Linked DNA regions of Homo sapiens: region 2 is linked to region 1. Evidence: promoter capture Hi-C in human tissues and cell types (Jung and others, 2019). All regions are on one chromosome and are shown on one strand. The core of a region is centred on a gene start or on the middle of the fragment in contact, and the rest is flanking DNA. Distances in the headings are between cores, read along the strand shown.

The links. Contacts are between HindIII fragments. The study calls those that stand out against the background at their distance.
Region 2: a contact is called between a fragment that was not itself captured here and the fragment with the promoter of NINJ1 in region 1, in 1 of the 25 tissues and cell types used here (heart right ventricle).

The regions. Positions count from the first base shown.
Region 1 is chr9:93,132,950-93,136,848 of GRCh38, forward strand. It overlaps NINJ1 (ninjurin 1), which reads right to left and starts at 1,302. Exons shown (of 4, transcript NM_004148.4): 1 at 1,194-1,302. The coding sequence starts at 1,268. It overlaps LOC124902212 (a long non-coding RNA gene), which reads left to right and starts at 63. Exons shown (of 3, transcript XR_007061665.1): 1 at 63-644. RefSeq lists enhancers at 507-556, 2,016-2,612 and silencers at 847-1,096, 1,267-1,496, 1,997-2,046. The HindIII fragment of the contact is 17,238 bases long and covers 1-3,899 here.
Region 2 is chr9:93,427,721-93,432,004 of GRCh38, forward strand. It overlaps LOC107987097 (a long non-coding RNA gene), which reads right to left. Exons shown (of 2, transcript XR_007061670.1): 2 at 3,691-4,284. Among named protein-coding and RNA genes, the nearest start is that of FAM120A, 22 kb to the right of the region's middle. The HindIII fragment of the contact is 9,352 bases long and covers 1-4,284 here.

The DNA of each region.
Region 1 (3,899 bases), core at 52-2,551:
AGGCAGGAGAGACCCTTTGTTCTCTCTTTATAAGACCATGTCTAAAAGGCCCAGCGAGGTGTGGCAACTTCCCAAGGACACACAGCCGGAGGAGCCCCCTGCCTATTGCTCCAAAGTGCTCACACACTGGGGCAGGGCCAGGTCGCTGGGGTCCCGCACACCGGTCAAGTCCTGCAGTGCGACAGCTCCTCTCTAACCTAGGAACAAGTGTCCATGCAGCCCCAGGGCCATCCTATCCCGTGGCTCATGGGGCCCCGCCTCCCCGAACATGTCCTGTCCCCACAGCACCGGCCTAGGACTGTTCACCAGCGAGTGGGCAGAGTGTCTTTGCCCCAGTCTGGTCCACGCCATGGAGAGGCCTGGAAAAACCCAACAGGCTGCTGTTCCCTGCCCCCATCCCTGAGGGGGTTAGAAAAGGAAAGAATGTTCAAAGTAAACAAGTCACCAGAGGGCCATGCCAGGACCTTGCAACAAACACAAGGTGCTCAGTAAGTGCTGAGTCCTGGGATGAAGAATTCTGAAGCGGGACCACTACCAGGGCCTGCCCCCTGCCCACAGCCCTCCCAGGCCGGGCAGGGCAAGTTCTGGAGGGCCGGTGGCGGCATACACTGAAGGCTGTGTGACGTTTCTATTTCTCAAGGCAGGTGAGTGGAATAGGGACCACAGCGGGCCCCAAGTTCCCCCATCAAGGCACGCATCAGATTGTGTGGTCAGCGTGGGGTGACGTAACTGTCTGCATGCAGCTGGTCTGGAGCCCGGAGGCTGTGACTCCCCTCCGCCCGCCTCCGGGCAAAGTGCGCGGAGGAGCCGGCACGGCGAGGCTGAAGTTAGAGAGGCCCGCGCGAGAGTGGGGGGGAGGTCGGGAAAGCCGGGCGCCGGCAGTCCTTAGCCCGAGGAGCTGCGCCGAGGCCCCCTCCGCCGTGCAGCCAAGCGCGGGCGCTGCTTAGTGGGGCTGGGGACGCCAGCCCGCCCTGCGCCCCCACGCCCCCTCGTCCCGCCCACTTGCCGGGGGTGGCTGGAGCTCCCGGGGGCATCGTTCTGACCCTGATGGGGCGGGAAGGACTTGGCCTAGAGCGGGACGTCCCCCAACACTCTGCAGTGCGGACGCGGCGCACACAGGTGCCCGGGGAGCCGCGGCGCCCCGAAAGGACAGGGCCTGGCAAGATCATGCAGCGGTGGGGGGAAGGTCTTACCGAGGCGTCCGGGGAGCCGGGTGTGCCCGGAGGCAGGCCGCCGTTGAGCTCGTACTCCTCGGTTCCCGAGTCCATGGTGCGGCCGCCCAGGCCGCCAGGATCCGGGCCTGAGCGCGCCCGAGCCTCAGCCGCAGGCTCCAGCTGCGCGCCCGCCCCCGGCCCGCCCCCGGCCCGCCCGGCGGCGAGCTGCTGCCCCAGACTCCGCCTCCACCCGGGGCGGGCCCGGGGCCTGGAGGCTGTACGCTGAGAGCGCGCAGTTTGGGGCGACCCCAACCCCTCGGGCCTGAGACGGTCCCGCGGGGCCCCACAAGGGAGGGGGCGCGACGCCGATGGCCCCAGAGGACCCTGCGCTGCGTCTTGCTCTGAACCTCCGTCGCGGACACTTTTAATCCACAAAATGAGGCCAAGAACGACCTTTCCCTGGCCACCAGGCAAACTGCATGAAAGCGAGCGGGCGTTGCCGCTGGCGCCCACGCTGGGTTTTTCCCAGGCGGGGTTCGCCCTGGGAACCGCAGATCGCTCCAGCACAGCGCCTGCTGCGCCCCTAGTAACAGCGTCAGAGAGTCCGGGGTTCCCCTGATTGCGGGCCACGCTGACACAGGGCTTCCCACTCCCTGACCTTAGGTTTTCCTGCCTGGGAAATGGGGGTTATGAGGGCACAGACTGCTGGAGGGGCTGGGGGAGGCACAAAGGGGATGAACGTGCGCTGACTCATGGGCCCATCTGTGCCACCTGTGGCAGGGGGTGGGCTGGGGGCAGCACAGTGCCCAGAGCCCTGGCCAGATGCTAGGCGGGCCCCCACCTGTTGTATGATTGAAGTGGTTGTTTGGTCTCTGTTTCTCCATATGTTCATTCCTCAGCACTTTGCCCATCTGGGGGCCTGGGGGTCGAGAGCATGTGGCGGCCACCCTGGGAGGCCAGGGGAGTTCATCCTGACCACAGCATAGTCAGCTTGCGGCAGTATGGCCACTCTATTTCCAGAAGGGCAGTGGAAGGAAGGCCAGCTCAGACCCCAGGCTCTGTCCAGTCAGGCTGCCACCGGGACAGGAGGTAGGAGTGAGTGGGCATGGGCAGGGCAGCAGGATTGCGCTTGCCCTGATCCTCCAAACGGGGTCATCCCATGAAGGAGGAGCTGTCGTGGGCCCACTTCACAGCAGAGAAACTGAGGCTCAGGCTGTCACTGCCCCAGCTCTGCCTCAGAGGGGATCTGCAGGACAGGGTCTGGCACGGTGGCCCACGACGGGGATGGTTGCTGTTGTCCTCGCATAATCAGGGCACTGTTGGCACACCTGAGTGTTCACCAGCAGCTGGAAATCCAGCACCATTCACACAAAAAACTCTCTCACAGTATGGGACAAATCCCTATTCTGGGGGATAGTGCCTGCCCACGAGGGCTCAATTCCTGGAGGGGCAGGAGGTGTGGGACCACAGAGAAAATACGTCACACCCAGAAAGGGCCCTGGGAGCTGCAGGGGAGCCCTGAGACCTTGGAAGGCCAAGGGCGTGTAGAGAGGCCCCGAAGTAGGAGGGCTTGGCAGGTGGAGACCCCGTCCTGAGAGTATTCTTTCCTTTGTGCCATGTGGGAGCTCCTGCAGTGTGGTTCATCATTCCCATCCTTTTTTTTTTTTTTTTTTGAGATGGAGTCTTGCTCTGTCGCCCATGCTAGAGTGTAGTGGTGCGATCTTGGCTCACTGCAAGCTCCACCTCCCGGGTTCACACCGTTCTCCTGCCTCAGCCTCCTGAGTAGCTGGGACTACAGGTGTGCGCCACCACGCCCGGCTAATTTTTGTATTTTTGGTAGAGACAGAATTTCACCATGTTGGCCAGATCACCTCCTGACCTCAGGTGATCTGCCCGCCTCAGCCTCCTAAAGTGCTAGGATTACAGGCATGAGCCACTGCGCCTGGCCCCATTCCCACCTTCTAAGAGGAAGCCGGGAGGGTCGCAGCACCAGTGACAGTTGGGACATCAGCCTCGGGGTTTGTAAACCTGCTCTGTGCTGGCCGTCTGAGACCCTCTCCCAGCCTCAGTTTCCTCAGCTCCTGGGGCTGCTGGCAGGACGTGTGGGTGTCAGGGCTCAGGCAGGCTGCAGCGCTGGAGTTCCCTCGTCTGCTCCGTCATCCTCATTTGAGTATGTAGTGTCTGTTTTCCCCACTGTGCTCAATGCTGTTTACCCAACTGTTCTCTGCTGGATCCAACCCAGGACAAGTCTTAAAGGCACAGTGTACCCCGTGTCACCTCCATCTACCTTTTTTTTTTCTTTTTTTTGAGATGGAGTCTCGTTCTATTGCTCAGGCTGGAGTGCAGTGGCGCGATTTTGGCTCACTGCAAGCTCCGCCTCCCAGGTTCAAGCGATTCTCCTGCCTCAGGCTCTCGAGTAGCTGGGACTACAGGCGCCCGCCACCACGCCTGGCTAATTTTTTGTATTTTTAGTAGAGACGGGGTTTCACCATGTTAGCCAGGATGGTCTCGATCTCCTGACCTTGTGATCTGCCTACCTCAGCCTCCCAAAGTGAAAGGATTACAGGCGTGAGCCACTGCACCGGGCCCAACCACCTACTTTCAAGTTCTCCTGGAGACCATGAGTGCATGAGCTGTCCAAGACCAGTTTCTAGACGCTGACCCTGAGCTGAGGGACATGTCCCCAGGAGAGACACAGAGGAGGGGTGTGGCTGGGAGGAACGGGCTGGCAGATGCCCCAGCAGA
Region 2 (4,284 bases), core at 1,124-3,623, 300 kb after region 1:
AACATTAATACTAATGAAGATAAAGTTTTATGGGTCATGTGTCCAGGTCACTGAAATCTCTGTGCTTATCTCTACTTGATATATTTGGCTCATTTCAACTCTGAGATCATCCTGTCCATAAAGAGAGCAAGAGCTTACCCAGTCAGCATTAGGTCAGTCTTGCTTCTCATTCAACTCTGATGTTGAAATCTGGTTCTGATAAACAGAGTTAGGCTTTGTCCAGTTGTGCACAGGCCCCAGCACTGCAGTCCACATCTAATAACTAGACCACTAGCTTTGGTATCACAAGGAGGACCCTGTCTGATGTCCTTCCTATTACCACAGTTCCTCCAGGACTGGAACTGTGCTTTCAGAGAAGTGAGCCCTGACTCTGGCCCCACACTGGGCCACTGCTTTCTGCGTCCAATTCCCTGCAGGATCAGACACCACTGGGCTCCATGGACCTCCTGCTACTGCCCCCTGCTGGGTCCTTGCCTGTGCTGGCTCTGATCCTACGCAACTGTTTGCCTTCTGCGTTCTTGTACCCCCTGATTTGACCCATCCCATCATCAACCAGGTTGCCAACTGTTTTTAATCACCCTAAGTTTTAAATTGTTTTTACTGCAAGAATTTCAGTTTTATTTGGTGGTAAAAGAATTTTTTAAAGTCAATAAAGTATTAATCAGAGAAATTGGAACAATGACCGGATATTATGTTAGGTATGATAATGGTAGTGCAGTTATGCCTTTAAAAGAGTCTTTATTTAAGAGAGTCCTTAGAGCTCATACTGAAATATTTGTGGGTGAAAATTATATGATGCCTGAAATTTGCTTTAAAAACATCCAGTGTAGGAGGGGAAGGGGACACAGATAAATCCCAATTGGCCATAAGTCGATAATTACTAAGCTGGGTGACAGGTACGTGGAAATGACTTACACTAGACTCTTTACTTTTATACATTAACATTTTACTTTTACTTTTATACATTAACATTTAAAAATAAATAAGTAAAAGGATTCGTACATTGGCTAACTAGGTGCAAAAAATGAAGTTAGATAGACCATACCTACAGTAAATTCCAGATCAATTAATCAATATGAGTGACACCAGGGAAGAACCAGAGGAAAATATAGGTAAATGTTTACCTGATCTCAAGGTGAAAAATATCCCTTCAAGAATAAAAGGAAAAAAAAAAACTATAGAGGAAAAACTTAGTTGATATGATTATATAAAAATTAAGAAAGGTTCTACATTAAAAACAAAAAAAAATCCTTTTAACAGGATAGCAACAAACTGGGAAAGATAGTTAAAACATATTATATAAGGTAAGCATTATTATACTTGATGTAAAAAGAGCTTTTTTGAAATAGGAGAATAACACCTCAATATAAAAAGTGTCAAAAGACATGAATGGGAAATTTACTTAAAAATACACATATGTGGCCAAAAAGATTAAAACCTCAATCTCAGCCAGGCACAGTGGCTCATGCCTGTAATGCCCACAGTGTGGGAGGCCAAGAAGAGAGGATCACTTGAGGCCAGGGGTTCAAGAGCAGCCTGGGCAATATAGCAAGACCCCATCTGTACAGAAAAAAATTAGCCAGGCATGGTAGCTAAAAATAAAAAAATTAGCCATGCCTGCAGTCTCAGCTACCTGAGAGGCTAAGGTGGGAGGATGGCTTGAGTCCAGGAGTTTGAGGCTACAGTCAGCTATAATCATGCCACTGCACTCTAGCCTGGGCAAGAGTGAGACCCCATCTCAAAAACAAAACTAAAGTAAACTAAACAACAACAACAAAAACCCTCAATCTCAATAAAAATAAGAGCTACCATTTTCGATCCATCAGCTGTGCAAATTTTTGAAAATGAAAACACTTGGCATACGTAGAGCAGAAAACAGGCACACCCGTTCATCGTATTAGGGTGGTGACATGATGCCACCTTTCCTGGGAGGAATCTGGCAATGGGCATCAAAGGACTAAGATAAGAATAGTTAGAGTCTTTGACCTGACAATTCTAATTTGGAAATTTATCCTTAGGGAATGAGTAGACAGAAATATATTGATGCTCAGTGATGTTTGTTACAATGTTATTTATAATAATAACACACTGTAATCTCAGCACTTTGGGAGGCCAAGGAGGGGGAATTGCTTGAGCTCAGGAGTTTGAGACCAGTCTGGGCAACATGGTAGAGCTCCATCTCTACTTAAAAAAAAAAAAAAAAAATTCAACTGGGTGTGGTGGTGCACGCCTGTGGTCCCAGCTACTCTTGAGGCTGAGGTGGGAGGATTGCTTGAGACTGGAAGGCAGAGACTGCAGTGAGCCAGATCACACCACTGTATTCCAGCCTGAGTAACAGAGCAAGACCCTGTCTCAAAAAGCAACAATAATAATAAAACACTGAAAACAAATGGAAACATCCAAAATAATGATTTGGTTCATTCACAGCATATGGTACAGCTCATTCACAAGACAGAATACTATATAGCCACAACACACGCTACAACTAATGTATATTATACTCAAAATGAAAGCATGAGTGCCTTCCCATATCCTGGAATATTTGTTGAAAACATGATTTCATGGCTACTACATATTCTCTCTAGAATTCACACTTATAAACACTCATAGGTTAATACGTATCTCAAAATGTTATTGGTGGTTGCTGCTGAATAGTAGGGCTCAGCATGCTGATTCCCTTTATCATACTTTTCTGGATTTTACAAAATTTTGACAATGAGCTTATATTGCTTTAAAATCAGAAAAATAAGGCAATAATAGACTCAAAACAATTACAAAATCAGAAAAATGAATGACACTAAAGAAATTTAGACTTGGGGAAAGATGCCAAAAAGGATCTGGCATACTCTGTGGACTCCCTCATGTGATCCATGATGAATTCAAAGCACATGGGGATGGGCACATCCAGGGTCGCATAGTCAATCAGGCAACAGCCCAGCCCAGCCTCTGACTCCAGGATCTTGTCAGCGCCTGCCCCTCTCAGAGGTGTCTTTGTGGACACATGTGGTACTCAGTGGTTTGACACATGCAGGCTGATCAAGGAATGCATCTGGTAAACTGCTAGGTTAAGAACCTAACAGATCCTTGGCTGGGCATGGTGGCTCACGCCTGTAATCCCAGTACTTTCGGAGGCCGAGGTGGGCAGATCACCTGAGATCAGGAGATCAAGACCAGCCTGACCAACATGGTGAAACCCCGTCTCTACACAAAACACAAAAAATTAGCCAGGTATGGTGGCACGTGCCTGTAGTCCCAGCTACTTGGGAGGCTAAGGCAGGAGAATTGCTTCAACCCGGGAGGCGGAGGTTACAGTGAGCCAAGACCACGCCATTGCACTCCAGGCTGGGAGACAGAGCAAGACTCTATCTCAAAAAAAAAAAAAAAAAGAACCTAACAGATCCTGTACTTTCTTCTCAAAAGCTTGATGGATATCATGAGGCAAGTGAAGCACTAGAAGCAAAAGTATACTTTACTGACATCTACATACATTATTATTAGACCTGTGATGCTTTTCACACTTGCTGCATTATATATAAGCCTGCTGGTTATTTACATTTAAAAAAATCCCCCACAGTGCCGCACATAGTACTATGGATATAATGATGTCTAATAGAGCCTTTTGCTGTTGCTGTTTTTTGTGCTTGCTTTTGTTGTTGTTTTTTCTAAAAATAAAAACAAAAACAAGAAAACTGTAACTATAATATTTATCATTTTAATTGATGTGTATAGTTTTACAAAATCAAATAGTAATAGAAACAAAATAGCATCCCTTGTGCCTCCCCTCCCTATTGCTCCCTGGTCTTATACAGTCATAAGAAGTCACAAGAAACCACGTACAAATTGTTAAGCCATTTCTTCTGCCATTTACCTTCCAATTCCTAAGGAGTATGCATGTGCTGTTATTTATTTTAGACATTATCTTTTTTCTCCCTGTCTTGACAGATGTTATCTAACTCAAGTGCACTTTGCTCTCCCTCCCCCATTCCCCTGGTGTAAGCATACCACACAGTCTTTGAGTTCACATTATTATTTGTGTCATATAGATACTGTTCACATGAGCCAGGAAGAGTACAACTTTTTTCTTAAATTATCACCTCTCAAAAAATAACTTTGTTGTCTACATACGTGTCTTCCAATGAGCCAGAAGACTCCCTATGTCAGCAAATCCACTGGTGCCATGACTTCCCACTGAGCCCCCTGACTTCCTGTTCTGCACGGGCTTGTCTGCTTCCTGGACCTGCTGCACAACTTGCTCCGAGTCCTATACTGGACATCCTGCTTTTA